Linked DNA regions of Homo sapiens: all the other regions are linked to region 3. The links are contacts of gene promoters, found by promoter capture Hi-C in blood cells and fetal thymus (Javierre and others, 2016). All regions are on one chromosome and are shown on one strand. The core of a region is centred on a gene start or on the middle of the fragment in contact, and the rest is flanking DNA. Distances in the headings are between cores, read along the strand shown.

The links. Contacts are between HindIII fragments. The CHiCAGO score rates a contact against its expected background, and 5 or more counts as called.
Region 1: a fragment that was not itself captured here is called in contact with the fragment with the promoter of TMEM177 in region 3 in 1 of 17 cell types (activated CD4 T cells); the score reaches 5.5 in activated CD4 T cells.
Region 2: a fragment that was not itself captured here is called in contact with the fragment with the promoter of TMEM177 in region 3 in 3 of 17 cell types (non-activated CD4 T cells, total CD4 T cells and total CD8 T cells); the score reaches 7.6 in non-activated CD4 T cells.
Region 4: a contact is called between a fragment that was not itself captured here and the fragment with the promoter of TMEM177 in region 3, in 9 of 17 cell types (total CD8 T cells, naive CD8 T cells, naive CD4 T cells and 6 more). The highest score is 11.1, in total CD8 T cells.

What each region holds. Positions count from the first base shown.
Region 1 is chr2:120,095,397-120,099,252 of GRCh38, forward strand. All of the region lies in intron 14 of EPB41L5 (erythrocyte membrane protein band 4.1 like 5), which reads left to right. Among named protein-coding and RNA genes, the nearest start is that of EPB41L5, 84 kb to the left of the region's middle. The HindIII fragment of the contact is 538 bases long and covers 1,814-2,351 here.
Region 2 is chr2:120,115,350-120,118,865 of GRCh38, forward strand. All of the region lies in intron 16 of EPB41L5 (erythrocyte membrane protein band 4.1 like 5), which reads left to right. Among named protein-coding and RNA genes, the nearest start is that of EPB41L5, 100 kb to the left of the region's middle. The HindIII fragment of the contact is 948 bases long and covers 1,608-2,555 here.
Region 3 is chr2:119,677,062-119,680,725 of GRCh38, forward strand. It overlaps TMEM177 (transmembrane protein 177), which reads left to right and starts at 2,140. Exons shown (of 2, transcript NM_030577.3): 1 at 2,140-2,215. RefSeq lists a silencer at 1,987-2,216. The HindIII fragment of the contact is 6,463 bases long and covers 1-3,664 here.
Region 4 is chr2:120,167,058-120,170,840 of GRCh38, forward strand. EPB41L5 (erythrocyte membrane protein band 4.1 like 5) reads left to right here. Exons shown (of 25, transcript NM_020909.4): 23 at 409-450; 24 at 820-950. It overlaps LOC105373582 (a long non-coding RNA gene), which reads right to left. Exons shown (of 2, transcript XR_007087216.1): 1 at 3,600-3,783; 2 at 1-987. Among named protein-coding and RNA genes, the nearest start is that of TMEM185B, 54 kb to the right of the region's middle. The HindIII fragment of the contact is 872 bases long and covers 1,822-2,693 here.

The DNA of each region.
Region 1 (3,856 bases), core at 833-3,332, 420 kb after region 3:
TTATGCTGTCTTTCTCTTCTCCTTCTGGAATTCTCATTAACATGTAAGTTGTTACACTTGATGGTGTCCTACAGGTCTCTGAGTCTGTTCGCTTCTCTTTATACTTTTTTTTTTTTAGACTACATAATCTCACTTGACCTGTCCTCAAGCTTACTGATTTTTTTTTTTAAACCACTTAAATGTTTGTTTCACTGGCGAGAGTATCTACTTTTGTTTTCAAATTACCATTCTGAAGGTCTTGCTTCTGATGGCTCCATTAATTAAATTTAATTAATTAATTAATTTTTTTTGAGACGGAGTCTTGCTCTATCGCTCAGGTTGGAGTGCAGTGGCATGATCTTGGCTCACTGCAACCTCCGCCTCCCAGGTTCAAGCGATTCTCCTGCCTCAGCCTCCCAAGTAGCTGGGATTACAGGCACGCACCACCATGCCCACCTAATTTTTTGGATTTTTAGTAGAGACAGGATTTCACCATGTTGGCCAGGCTGGTTTCGAACTCTTGACCTCATGTGATCCGCCTGTCTCGGCCTCCCAAAGTGCTAGGATTACAGGTGTGAACCACCACGCCCAGCCGGCTCCATTAATTTTAATATTACTTATTACAATGAGGCTATATCTGTGGTCTCATATAATGCTTAATAATTGGTATGTATTAGAGTCTCCTAGAATGCCTGTTAAAGATAAGATTCAGACCATACCCACAAATCTAATTTATTTTTGAATTTGTCTGTACTCTTATATGGCAGTTGTCTCACTAGACTTTTTTCAAAAGAAGTTGGTTATTTTTGGATATTGAGTATCATCAGCCTCACCTTGAAATGTCCATTTTTTTTTCACTTTGAAAGCTGTTAAAGCCAGTCCGTGATTAGTGATTGACTATAATAGCACTCCGCTTTCTGAACAAGGACTCCCCTCAAGTTTCTTTAGCTGTCAATAGGCTGTTGAAAATAAATAAATAAATATAACAGGGAGGAAGTGAAATTTCTGTGAAACTCTCTCCGTGAGATTTTTATTAGGTAAAAAAACAACATTTTGTGCCTTTTCTGTGCTGTATACTTTTATTTTTCTTGGATTTATTTATAAGCTATGTTTTTCAGAAAAGTAGAGTAATGGCTGGGAGCAGTGGCTCATGCCTGTAATCCTAACACTTTGGGAGGCCAAGGCAGGCAGATCACCTGAGGTCAGGAGTTTGAGACCAGCCAGACCAACGTGGCAAGACCCCATCTCTACTAAAAATACAAAAATCAGCTGGGCGTGGTGGTGCGCGCCTGTAATCCCAGCTACTCTGGAGGCTGAGACAGGAGAATTGCTTTAACCCTGGAGTCGGAGGTTGCACTGAGCCGAGACTGCGCCACTGCACTCTAGCCCGGGTGATAGAGCAAGACTCCATCTCAAATAATAAAAAGAAAAAGAAAAATGGAGTAATGTTTGAGATTTTTCTGTACCTTTGAAGCTATTTTGTTTATTTAATGTATTATGTCTTGCTTTCCTGAAAAGGAGGCTGGGATATGGAATATTAGAGCTTAAAGTAAAAAGTGAGTACCTGCTAAAGTTAGCAGAAATGTAAACAAAGTATTCAGCAATGGTACGTAGTTGAAAAATTAAGGCTTTTATTTGCAAAATAGGAGGTTTTTCTTTAAGATGTTCTGAAACACATTTCTGGTAAAATATGAATATATATAGTGCCTGTTTTGGAATTATGATTAATTTAACTTTAATGGCTAAATGTTGGTGTCTCTTCATTAGTGATGCTTTTGACTCTGGAAAACATAGCAGAAATGGTATATTTAAGGAATGGTTTTTTTTTAGACTAAGCTTTTAGAAATGAGATGTAGTGGGGGACCCAACTCTCCTGAAGGTTATTGAGCACCACCCATCGCAGTGCTTGAGAAAACCTGAGCTCAGACTGGCATGTTGTATGCCCTTTCACTCTTGCCCTTCCATTTCTGTTTGTATGAACAGTTTTGCTCTATTGAACCATGGAAAACAGTACTGTTTGAAAAGGCACAACTATTTGACCTGAAAATCTTCTCGACCTTGTATTCTGCAGTTTTGTAAAATGCCCATTTGAATAACAGATTTTTTAATTGGCTAATGTCAGTCATTTTTCTTGTACTGTTTTGGCTCTTAACTATTCTTGTGAGTCATGAATACTATAAAGTATTTAAGAGGTGATGTTTTAAAGGATAGTTGACATTTCAATTACTAGTACTTCTTATACAGGCTTAATATGCAGTCTTGAAGACAGGAAAGAGGAAAAGAAAAAATGGTAGAGGAAATCAAATGAGTAGAAGGTATACTATGTAAAAGCAAAAATGGTCAGTTATTGTATGTAGTCCTTTAAAAAGGGAAGCTTGAACTAGGTTAGTAATGAGAAATAATTCAGTAATTCCTTCATATTCATGGAAGTGAAAGAATGTATATAATTATCAGAAAATAATGCTTTCTGTATTTCATACAATTTAAAACAGGAAGCTATGGTTCAATTAACATCACTTATAAATATTTTGTTCTCATGTTAATCTTATTGATCACCTACTAAAGTTATTTCTAGTTAAAGGAAAAGCTTCAGAGAATAACCAAGGAACTGTGGACTAGTAGGTCTAACTTCTGTACCAAGCAGGCTGGGTGAGATTTCATTAAGACTTAGGATCATGGGTATTCTAGGAAGAGCAACATGGTTAGTAAAAAGAAATTGTGCCTGATGGGTATAATCTTTAAAATTGCCATGGCAGTGGATCTGCACTAAATTGTTTGTTTTGTGTGTGTGTGTGTGTGTGTGTGTGTGTGTGTTTTGGTGGGGTGGGGTTTTGTTGTTGTTGTTGTTTTTTGAGACAGGGTCTTGCCCTGTCACCCAGGCTGCAATGCAGTGGCATCATCATGGCTCACTGTAGCCTCAACCTCCTGGGATCAGGCAGTCCTCCTGCCTCAGCCTCCAAAGTATCTGAGACTACTACAGGCACGCACCCTCACACGTAGCTATTTTTTAATTTTTTGTAGAGTTGGAGGTCTGGCTCTGTTGCCCAGGCTGGTCTCAAAGTCCTAGGCTCAGGCAGTCCTCCTGCCTCGGCCCCTGAGAGTGCTAGGATTACAGGCATGAGCCACCATGCCTCACCAATAGTATTTCTTTGAAAGGTATTTTGTTGTTGTTGTAATCACTGTTATTTGTATTTTGCTAATATTAACTCATTTAGTTGTTCTAACAGTCTCATGCAAATGAGCAACCCAAGGTGTACAGAATAGACCTAGTGACACAGCTTGGCTTTGAACCCAGACAGTGATAGTGCAAGTTATAGTGACTCAACTTGTAATTGATCTGTAGTTCTTAAAAAAATAGAATATAAAATATGTTCACTCTTCATTCCCCAGCGTTTTAGCAGGGCCTCTCTTCATTCTTAGGTTCTTAACTGGTTGGCTTTCATTATCAGGTAGCGGTTTTTTGCTCTCACCTTGTTAGAAAGGCTTCTGGATCCTCTATTCAGAGGTTGTGTTTGAGAGCTTTGCCTGTTTCCTCTTAGTAGAATGACATGTTGGCTGGTTATAAAATAATATTCTTGATTACTGCTATGGGAGGCCTTTGCCAACCTGATAATTGGTAGTGATTTACTTTTAAATCTGCTCGGGGTACCCGAAGTATTCTTTCCTTATCCTTGAAGTTGAGTGGCTGAACAATAGGGGATCGATTGCATTTCATTTTCTGTCTCATTTTCCTGAAACACAGTGCTGTCGTTAAATCTGTAAATTATTTTCTCACTTTCAAGGAATTTTTTTATATTTTTGAATTATTTTTTACATTAGTTGAATTTCTTACTTCAGGGATACCATTTATCCTTGTTTTAGAATGTCTGACATTAGG
Region 2 (3,516 bases), core at 832-3,331, 440 kb after region 3:
TTAAGTAGATATGTTCTGGTGTACCATTTCAGTTCTTTTTTCTTTCTCTTACTATTTTATTTATTTGTTTTTTGAGACGGAGTCTCACTCTGTCACCCAGCCGGGAGTGCAGTGGCACGATCTCGGCTCACTGCAACCTCCACCTCCTGCCTCAGCCTCCTGAGTAGCTGGGATTACAGGTGTCCACCACCATGCCTGGCTAATTTTTATTTTTTTATTTTTAGTAGAGACGGGGTTTCACCATGTTGGTCAGGCTGGTCTCGAACTCCTGACCTTGTGATCCGCCTGCCTCGGCCTCCCAAAGTGCTGGAATTACAGACATGAGCCACCATGCCTGGCCCTCTCTATTTTAAAACATTGTTTTCTTAATGGTTACCCTGGGGATTATAATTAACATTTTATGTTATGTTGTGATCTGATGTTATGTGATATGTTATGTTGTGTTATGTTACGTTACGTTACGTTATGTTATTTTTCGAGACAAGAGTCTTGCACTGTCACCCAGGCTGGAGTGCAGTGGCACGATCTCAACTCACTGCAACCTCTGCCTCCGAGGTTCAGGCGATTCTCATACCTCATCCTCCTAAGTAGCTGGGATTATAGGAATGCACCACCACACTCAGCTAATTTTTTGTATTTTTAGTAGAGACAGGGTTTTGCCATGTTGGTCATGCTGGTCTTGAACTTCTGGCCTCAAGTGACCTGCCCGCCTCAGCCTCCCAAAGTGCTGGGATTACAGGTATGAGCCATACTGCCCAGCCTACAATTAACATTTTAATTTAAAACAATCTAGTTTGGATTATTTGGACATTAAATACCAATTTAATGTCAGTAGTACATGTAAACTTTGCTTCTATAGAGCTTTGTCTCCCACTTTGTGCTGTTTTTCTCTTACAGAATATGTCTCTGTGCATTGTATGCCCATCAACATAGATTTAAAATTTAGAAAAAACATTTTTCCAGTATTCTCATCATTTCATCCAGCTTTCACAATGATTCTGCAGTGCGCTTTCCTTTTCCTATATGATTGAAGGAGGTAATTGAGTCTTCTGCACCAATCTGGTTCTTAACCTCAAATTTAGGAAGATTAGGAAAAGCCTTATACTGGAAACTTAAACATGAAAATAATGTTTCTTGCCAAAAGAAGGAAAATTTTCTTAAAAGTAATGATGAATGGCGTTTTGTTTTTTGAGATAGGGTCTTGCTCTCTCTTCCAGTCTGGAGTGCAGTGGTTTGATCATGGCTCACTGCAGCCTCAATCTCCTAGACTCAAGTAATCTCACTTCAGCCTCCCAAGTAGCTAGGACTATAGGCACATGCTACCACACCTGGCTAATTTTTTTATTTTTTTTTATTTTTTGTAGAGATACAGTCTCCTCTGTTGCTCAGGCTAGTCTTGAACTCCTGAGCTCAAGTGATCCTCCCACCTCAGCCTCCCAAAGTGTTGGGATTATAGGCATGAGCCACTATATCTACCTAAATGTAGTAAGTCTTTATGCTACTACTGAAAAAAAGAATGAATGTCAAAATACACTAGTGTGTTTGTGAAAACAGTACCAACTGGGAATTTGCGTAATATAAAAATCCAAAAGGATTTTTCCATTTAAAGCTTCTACTAGAAAATAATAAAAACATCTTGGATGTTACCCTTGAAAATATTTTTCATTTGCCCTTAATTTTAAAAATTTATTGTGAAATAAATATATAGAGAAAAGTTTATAAAAAATACAGTTCCAGTTTGAGTATCTTTCTTCAGGTTAAGAAATAGAAATTACCACTTCTTTAGAAGTTCTTCTGGTCTCTTAATCCAAATTCATGCCAACACTCTAACTCCCAAGTGAGTTGCCAGGGTTCATTGCCTTCCCCAATGCCTTATTCCTATCTCCCTTCTTCCCTGCGAGAAACCTGGCTTCTATTTGGTTAATATGTGCTAAACAGTTTCAGAATTGCTATACCCATGCCACTGTCAACAACAAATCTAAGTGACATTTAGTATTTCTTCATGGTTCTCCTTTTTAGACAGAGTATATAGTTGAAGTATTGCACTTCAAATTTACTTGGATTAGTACCCTTTCCTCCTCAGTGTGATTATGGTATTTATTTGGTCGTAGATGAATTTTAATTTTTCTAGATATTGCCTGACTCTCCTTCATTGAGGATTCTGCATTTGACCAGCAGAGTATGAGAGTGCTTCTACCTCTCATAGCCTCACTGACAAAGGATCAAGAAAGACTGGGATTTTTGCCAATCTGAAAAACAATATATGGTATCTAAGTGTGTGTTTTTTTCCTTAGAGCTTTATCGAGGTACACTTGGTGCAATAAAGTGCATCTTTAAAGTGTTTTGAGTTTGGACACAGACCCGTGAAACCAACACCATAATCAAGATTCATGATGAATATGTTCCACGTAGTTTTCATTTAAATCCCTCTCAGTAGCATATTTGTATGTTTAAGAGCCATTTGCATTTTTTCCATAAATTGCTTGTTCCTCTCCCCCTGCCCCCTCCCCATTTTTAAACAAGGCTGTTGGCCTTTTTCTTCTCTACTTTTAAGAAGCTTTTTTGTGGATAATTGGGATATTAACTCTGTGTATTTAAGCTGCAAAAATATATTTTCAGTTTTTCACTGTTTACTTTTAGTATTTTTCTGTGCGAAAGTTTTAAAAGTTTTTATATAAGCAGATTGATCCGTTTTTTCTTTAATAGTTTCTGGAATTTAATAGAGTTTTCCTCACTGCTACATTTTAGAGGAATTCAGCTATCCTTGCCTCCAGCACTGTATGGGTTAATTTTCTTACATTTGAATCTCAGATCCATTTTGAAACTTGGTTTAAGATAGGAGTAATGAAATCTAATTTTGTTATTTTCCAGATGGCTTTCCAATTATGTCAACCTCACTTTTCAAGAAATTCATCATGGTGCTGAGGCAACTGTATGTCCACATAGAAAAGAATAAAATTGTACCCCCGTCTCAGACCTAAATTTATTTATTTATTTATTTTTTCTTTAACTTTTATTTTAAGCTCAGGGGTACATGTGCAGAACGTGCAGGTTTGTTTACATAGGTAAATGTGTGCCATGGTGTTTTGCTGCACAGATCATACCATCACCTGGGTATTAAGCCAGCATCCATTAGCTATTCTTCCTGATGCTTTCCCTCCCCCACACCCCCGACAGGCCCCAGTGTGTGTTGTTCCCCCTTCCTTGTGTCCGTGTGTTTGCATCATTCAGCTCCCAGTTGTAAGTGAGAACATGTTTGGTTTTCTGTTCCTACATTAGTTTAATGGCTTCCAGTTCTATCCATGTCCCTGCAAAGGACGTGATCTCATTCCTTTTTATGACTGCGTAGTATTCCATGGTGTAAATGTGCAACATTTTCTTTATCCAGTCTGTCATTTATGGGCATTTAGATTGATTCCATGTCTTAGGTGCATAGTGCTGTGATGGACATATGCATGCATGTATTTCTACAATGGAAAGATATTCTTTTGGGTATATGCCCAGTAATGGGATCAG
Region 3 (3,664 bases), core at 890-3,389:
AAAATTTTTTTAAACTTTTTATTATGGAAATTTCCAAACACACACAAAAGTAGAGCATGGTATGATGAAGATCCCTGAACCTGTCATGCAGCTTCACAATAACTAACACTTTGTCAATGTTGTTTCATCTGTGCCCCTGTTTTTTTGTTGTTGTTGTTGTTTGGATTTGGTTTCGTTGGAATATTTTGAATCAAATAGTAGACATTGTGTCATTTCACCTGTAAACACTTCAGTATGCATCTCTAGTAAGAATTTTTTGGTTTATATAAACTCCATGTCATCATCCCATCTGATGAAATAAGCAATAATTCATTAATATCATCTAATATTCAAATCCAAATTCAAATTTCTCCAAGATGCCTTTTGTTTGTTTGTTTGTTCCTTTGTTTGTTTGAGACAGAGTCTCACTTAGCCACCCAGGCTGGAGTGCAGTGGCACAATCTCGGCTTACTGCAACCACCATCTCCCAGGTTTTAGCGATTCTCCCGTCTCAGCCTCCTGAATAGCTAGGATTATAGGCGTGTGCCACCATGCCTGGCTAATTTTTGTATTTTAGTAGAGACGGAGTTTCACCATGTTGGCCAGGCTGGTCTTGAACTCCTGACCTCAGGTGATCTGCCCTCCTTGGCCTCCCAAAGTGCCAGGATTACAGGCGTAAGCCACCGCGCCCAGCCCAAGGTGTCTTTTTTACAGTTAGTTTATTTGGTTCAGGATCCCAATAAAAGTCACATATTGCATTTAACTGCAATGACTCTCAAGTCTCTTTTCTTTTGAGTCCCCCTCCTTCCCTGTTTATGCCATTGATTTGTTGGATAAACCACGTCATTTGCCCTGTAGAATGTCCCACATTCTGGCTTTGGCTGAGGTCACATTGCACTATTTACATACAAACAACTGAGCAGCCAAAATTGGGGGGGGGGGCTCAGAAACAGAACAGACTTTAATAATAATAGCTAATGGCTAGGCGGCACAAACCGTGAGGCACAGGTTACATATACACCAACTCATTTTATCACACAGCTAGTAAGGGGTGGAGCCCGGCTTTAACCCTAGGCAGTCTGTTTTCACCCTCTGTAAAGGATTGGGCATGGCTGTGTTCCAAGAAAACTTTATTTACAAAAGCAGGTGGAGAGCTGGATTTGGTGCACAGATTAGATGATCCCTCATCTACCTCACAGAGCAGCTGGAAAGGAGAAATGACAGATGGCACGCTGCTCTGTGGACTGTACAGTGTGAAGCACCTGGGAGGAGCTTGGGGGGCAGCGAACATGGTAATAAACATAAAGCTCAGAGCTCCCCGCCAAGGGTGAGCGCTTCCAGACGGAGAAGTACACGGGCCGGCCAGTCAGATGGGCATGGGTTCTGATGGGGGCCCTGCCATAGGCCGCCTGGTGACCCACGCGGGGCTGCCGTTCCTTCGGGGGTTCAACGGCATGATCAAAGACACCGGGATGTGTGTGTGTGTGTGTGTGTGTGTGTGTGATGATCAAAGACACCGGGGTGGGTGTGTGTGTGTGTGTGTGTCATGATCAAAGACACCAGGGTATGTGTGTGTGTGTGTGTGTGTGTGGCATGATCAAAGACACCGGGGTGTGTGTGTGTGTGTGTGTGGCATGATCAAAGACACCGGGGTGTGTGTGTGTGTGTGTGTGTGTGACGGAGTCTCGCTCTGTCGCCCAGGTTGGAGTGCAGTGGCGTATTCTCGGCTCACTGCAACCTCTGCCTCCCAGGTTCAAGCGATTCTCCTGCCTCAGCCTCCCCAGCAGCTGGGGACTACAGGCGTGCGCCACCACGCCCAGCTAATTTTTGTATTAATCAAAGACGCATTTCAACGCAGAGGAGGAAGTGCTAGCGGACCCACCCCAAGGTGCACAGTTAGAGAAGGAGCCTCTGCGGCGGCCGGAGCCCCCCACGGACATCCCCTTGAGGCCCCCCCAGCCACACCCCCAAGAGTCCCGCCCCCAGACCCGTCGAGCGAGCTCCCCTCCCTGAAATCCTCGCCCCGAGATCTCCGGCCGGCGAGCTCCGCCCCCTGAAGTCCCCATCCCAAGATCCGGGGCCGGCGAGCTCCGCCTCCCGAAGTCCCCGCCCCCAGATCCCCGGCCGGCGTGCTTTGCGGCCGCCCTGCCGCGCGCACATGTAGGCGTTCCGAGCGGCGGCGGAGGTGAGCGCACGGACGAGCGGGAGGGACCCTTCTCCGGCCTGATGCGACCCGGTAACGCGTTCAGACTGCGGAGTAGCCTAGGGGCCCAGAGTGGAAGCGTAGCGAGGACCCCTCTGCGGGGCTCCTGCAGCCCCTCCTCCCCCAGCCACCGGCGGGCTGCATGGTACTGTGTTCTAGGCCCACCCCGCAGCGCGATGGCCCTAGGGACGTTGGACTTTGGTCCAGACCTTTCCTTTCTTAGCCTCACTTTCCGCATTGGGAAAAAAAAAAAGCCCGAATGATAATGATTCTTATAGGAGTTCTTGATTAAGATAGGCCAAGCGGTACCCTGCGTTTTTGTTTGCGGCAACTCATTCGTTGCTCATTAAGCACTTTTCACGGACAGGAATACAGTAAGTTTCAATCAAAGTGAAATAATTGTGAATTTTTACTGACGTATTCACGGATGAAGTGATAGGATGCCCGGGGATGTTTCAAAATAAACCAGTTGGACGGAAGTGTGGTGGAAAGAGAAATCAAACAAGATTGGCCATGAGTTGATGGGATTGAAGTTGATGGATGTACTATTTTGTCTACTTTGGTATATGCTTGTAATTTGGCATAACAAGTTTTCTAAAACAAAAAGTTTGCTGTGGACACCTGACTATGCCTGTGTTAGCTTGCTAGAGCTGCCATGCCGAAGTACCGGAGACTGGGTGGCCCAACCAGCAGAAATTTGTCCTCTGGGAGTTATGGAGGCTGGAAGTTCAAGACCAGGGTGTTAACAGGGTTGGTGTCTTCTGAGACCTCCCTTCTTGGCTTGTAGGTGGTAGCCTTTTCCCTGGATCCTCACATGATCTTCCTGCTGTGCCTGTTTGCATCCTAATCTCTTCTTATAAGTACACCAGTCAAATTGGATTAGGATCCATACTGATGGCCTCATTTTATCTTAATTATCTCCTTAAAGACCCTGTCTCCAAATACAGCCACAGTCTGAGGTACTGGGGGTTAGGACTTAAATATATGAACTGGGGAGGAGGAGGAGACACAGTGCAGCCCATAACACTGTCACTTCACTAGCTTAGGATTTTGGCCATTTAAGTTTTCACAGCTTTGAAATAGGGTTAGCTGTAGTAATTAGGTCATGGGGTTGTGAGGGTTCAATCGGTAAGAGTGCTCAGAACTGAGTCTAGCATATAGTAAGCACTCAATAAATTGAACACGTTTTTCCTTATAAATTAGTAATCATAGGGCTTTACCATGGGATGAGTGGAATGAGGCAGTTGGAGTGCCGTGCCCAGCGATGGGAATAAAAGTCATTACAGCCATTATTATAAGGAATATCTGCTGCTGTGCCAGACACTAAATGTTTTATGTATGTTTATTCATGTGCTCATCACCGCCACCCTAGAGGTGGGCCATTACGACACACCTGTTTGGCACATGGGGAAATTGACGCACAGAGACGGAGCTGGGATTTGAACACAGGCACTCTGGCTCTAGAGCCCACACTCTTCACCA
Region 4 (3,783 bases), core at 1,008-3,507, 490 kb after region 3:
TGGATTAGTCACAATCCATTGTTCAGGCTGCTACCAAGAAGGCTATCATTATTTGTAATTAATTAACTGAAATTTCAGAAAATAAAATGTTAAACTGAATACTGGGTGTGAGGTAGGGGCAGTCCTATTAAGTGAACTGAAAGTAGTAATAGATTCTTGAATGGTAAATTTTTAGATAAGAGATTCTCAAAATTATGACACTTTCTTAAGTGGTGAGGGATAGCATCTGTGTTGTATAACAGAAAAGGGTCTTGGATTTAGAAGTCCATGTCAGCTCAAGGAACACCATTAAGAATTAAGAATTGCCCTCCTAGAATGGATTTCATAATAGATGTAAGTAAGTATTATAAGTATGAAAATAAGTCAGTCTTTCCAAAAAGTAAATACATACATATAAAATTATTTCAGGTGTCTTCCACATCCATGATCACACCCCGGTGGATTGTTCCGGTAAGTTCATGTTATTTGTGATTTTTCTTCTGGCTACCCTTTCAGGGTAAGGCCTAAAGGATTACTAGGTTCTTTGTTTTTCCTTAAAAACATGAGGGTTGTTATCAAAGCCTTGTTAACTGAACTTAACTTAATGGCTTCAAGCTAGTGGCTTACCCTTTCTGGTTGTAAATGTTTGTCAGGATGCTGGCAGAAACAAAAGTAAAAGTCTCAGATGAAGAATAGTTAAGAAAAACAAAACAAACAGTCATAATTATCAAAACCATCTTCGTTAATCTCATAGTCATTAGTGAAGCTTGATTTGGAGCTGAAGTGCTGACCAGGCAGGTATTGTTACCCTGTATTTAGTTGTGTGTGTATCTCCCACAGCAGAGTGGTGCCATGTCTAATGGACTTGCGGGATGTGAAATGCTTTTGACAGGGAAGGAGGGACATGGTAATAAAGATGGAATCTCACTGATCTCTCCCCCAGCGCCATTCTTGGTAGATGCTGTGACCAGGTGAGAAAATTATTTCTCATTTGCAGTTCTTAGGCATCTGTTAGGAAGAAAAAAATAATAAAACTTATTATCTCTAAAGCAGCAATGTCAATTCTTCCCTAACTGAACTATATTGAAATGGGGCAAATCTTTTTTCTGTTTGTTATTTAGTGTAGTGGCTTTTTCTTGTCAGTAGCAATTTTCTACAAAACTGTATTAGCGTTTCTTTATCAAGTCTTTGCTAAAGATGTTAACAGGCTTATCTTTGTAATAGTTGTTTTAAAGTCAATTTGTATTGTTTCCCTTTACGCTTTACTATTTATTATGATTATGCCTACTGTAATAGTGATGAATGATGGTGCCCGTCAACACAGGTGAAGAGGTGCAGTATAAGTGGGTAAGTTAGGATACTCCTAGGGTGAGAGCCCTGAGATGCCTTTACCAATACATGTTGTGAGCTCATTTCAAGGCGTTGCTTGCTACAGACAGAAACTAGACTCAAAAACTAGAGCTTTTTGTTCAGCATCTGGTTCTTCAACTTTTGATTTGCTAGAACCATAACTGCACCTGTTTTACAAAAGATTTAGAATTGCCTTCACTCCTACCTCAGACCTTTTTTCTGAATATATCCCACATTTCACATATCCTCCTTGAAAATGTGGGTCGGTTGAAATACATGCTTTCCTAATTAGAGAAAGGTAGGATGAATTATTAGAGATCATTAACTTGAAAGAAATTCAGTTTAATTTCAAAATTGTCTCCACAGTGTTCAAAGTAGCATATTACTCAGCAAACAAACACTTATTGAATGTCTGTGATGTACCAGGCATTGACTGATATCTGACACTAAAGATAACAGTGAACAAGACAGATGAGAGACCTACATTTGGGAAGCTTACATCTAGTAAAAGAGTGCTTTATACAAATGTAATGGATTATTTTTCTAAGCATTTGTATGCCTAATAATGATCACTGTAAAAATAGAGCTGCACACAGAGAACCCGACGGTAATGCTTTGTAATTGAATTTACACAATAAAATGTGAGCTCTTAAGGACTTTCACATTAAAAATTACAGATGAAAGCAGAGCTTATCTCTTTCTTCCTAGAACTCATGGAAAGGAGTAATAAAGGGCTTAAAGACATAAAAATTACAAATAAACCAATGGAACAGAATAGAGTCTGGAAACAAACTCATATGTAATACAGTTTTCTGGTTTATGAAAAAAATGATGATGCAATGCTGTAAGGAAAGAATGGTCTTTCTTTTAGTAAATCAGCTGGACAGATTAGTTGTCCCTGTGGGGAAAAAATAATAATCTTGACCCAACTCCATACCATTCACAAAAATCCATTCTGGATGGATTGCAGATCTAAATATGAAACATCAGATAATAAACTTATAGAAGAAAACATGAGTGAACTTACTTGTGACCTTAGAATAGACAAAGATCTTTTAAACAGCTCACAAGGAGCTTTAGTCTTACAGGAAAAAAATCACTTGGATTATATCAAGAAATTTTGTTCATCAAAAAATGTAATTTCAAGATATTATGGAAGGGGAAGCCACAGAATAGGAGAAAACATTTGTTCTCCATCCCTCCTTCTGTCTCTCTCTCCCTCTCTCACCCCCTTCCCTTCTCCTTCCTCCGCAACCTCAGTCTTAACTTTGTATGGCAAAGGACCCACTCATATCTAGAATTTATAAAGAGTTCCTCCAAATAAGTAAGCTAAAGATGATAGCATAATAGAAAAATGGGCAAAAAGCTTGAATAGGCAGTTCACAAACCAATATCCAAATGGCCAGTAAGCATTCTAGACAGTGTGCAACTTGATTAGTCCGTGGGGAATGTAAATTCAAACTACCATGTCACAGTGCTACATTATCACCAGAATGGCTAAAATGAAAGACACATAGTACCAAGTTTTGGTGAAGATATGGGGCAACTGAAACTCTGTAAATTGGAGTAACCACATTGGAAATAGGTTTGGCAACATCTACTAAAGCTGAACATATTCAGTGATTCTATTTTTATATAAATACCCAATGGAACTGTGAATATATGTCCATCAAAAGACATGTACAAGAATTTTTATAGCACCTATATTCATAATAGTCCAAACTGAAAACCTTCCAACTGCACATTAGCAGTTGACTAGATAAATATTAGAAAAGAGCAGTGAAAATTAATAACTACAACTAAAATGTAGCAGTATAGATGAATCACATAAACATAATTGTATTAATTGTCTACTTCTGTGCAACAACTTACCACAAAACTTAGCAGCTTCAAACAATACACACTTATAATCTCATTTTCTGTGGCTCAGGAATCTGGATGTAGCTGAGCTGGGTTCTCTGCTTCAGGGTCTCTCACAGGCTACAGTCAAATATTGGCAAAGGCCAGGTTTTCATCTGAAGGCTCAATGGAAGGAGAGGCACCAGCCAGAGCTCTTGGCAGGATTCAGGATCTGAAGACCTGTTAGACTAAGGAACTCAGTTCCTAGCTGGTGATTGCCAAGAAGCTGCCCTCAGTCCTTACCATGTGGGCCTCTCCAAAGTAGTTCCTTACTTTATTCTAGCATGCAAACTGAGAAAGCAGTAGAGTCTGCTAGCAAGACAGAAGTCACAATCTTGTATAGTCTAATCACAGAAATAACATCCTTTTACCTTTGCTATATTCTGTTGTTGGTTAAAGTAAGTCACAAGTCCTTTCCACACCCAAGGGCTAGAGATTACATAGGAGTGTGAACAGCTGGAGATGGAGATCTTTGGGGTTCATCTTGGAGTTTCTCCACTGTAATAAGGATAAACAAAATCAAGTTCAAACAGGAGCACAACTCTATAATGGTTA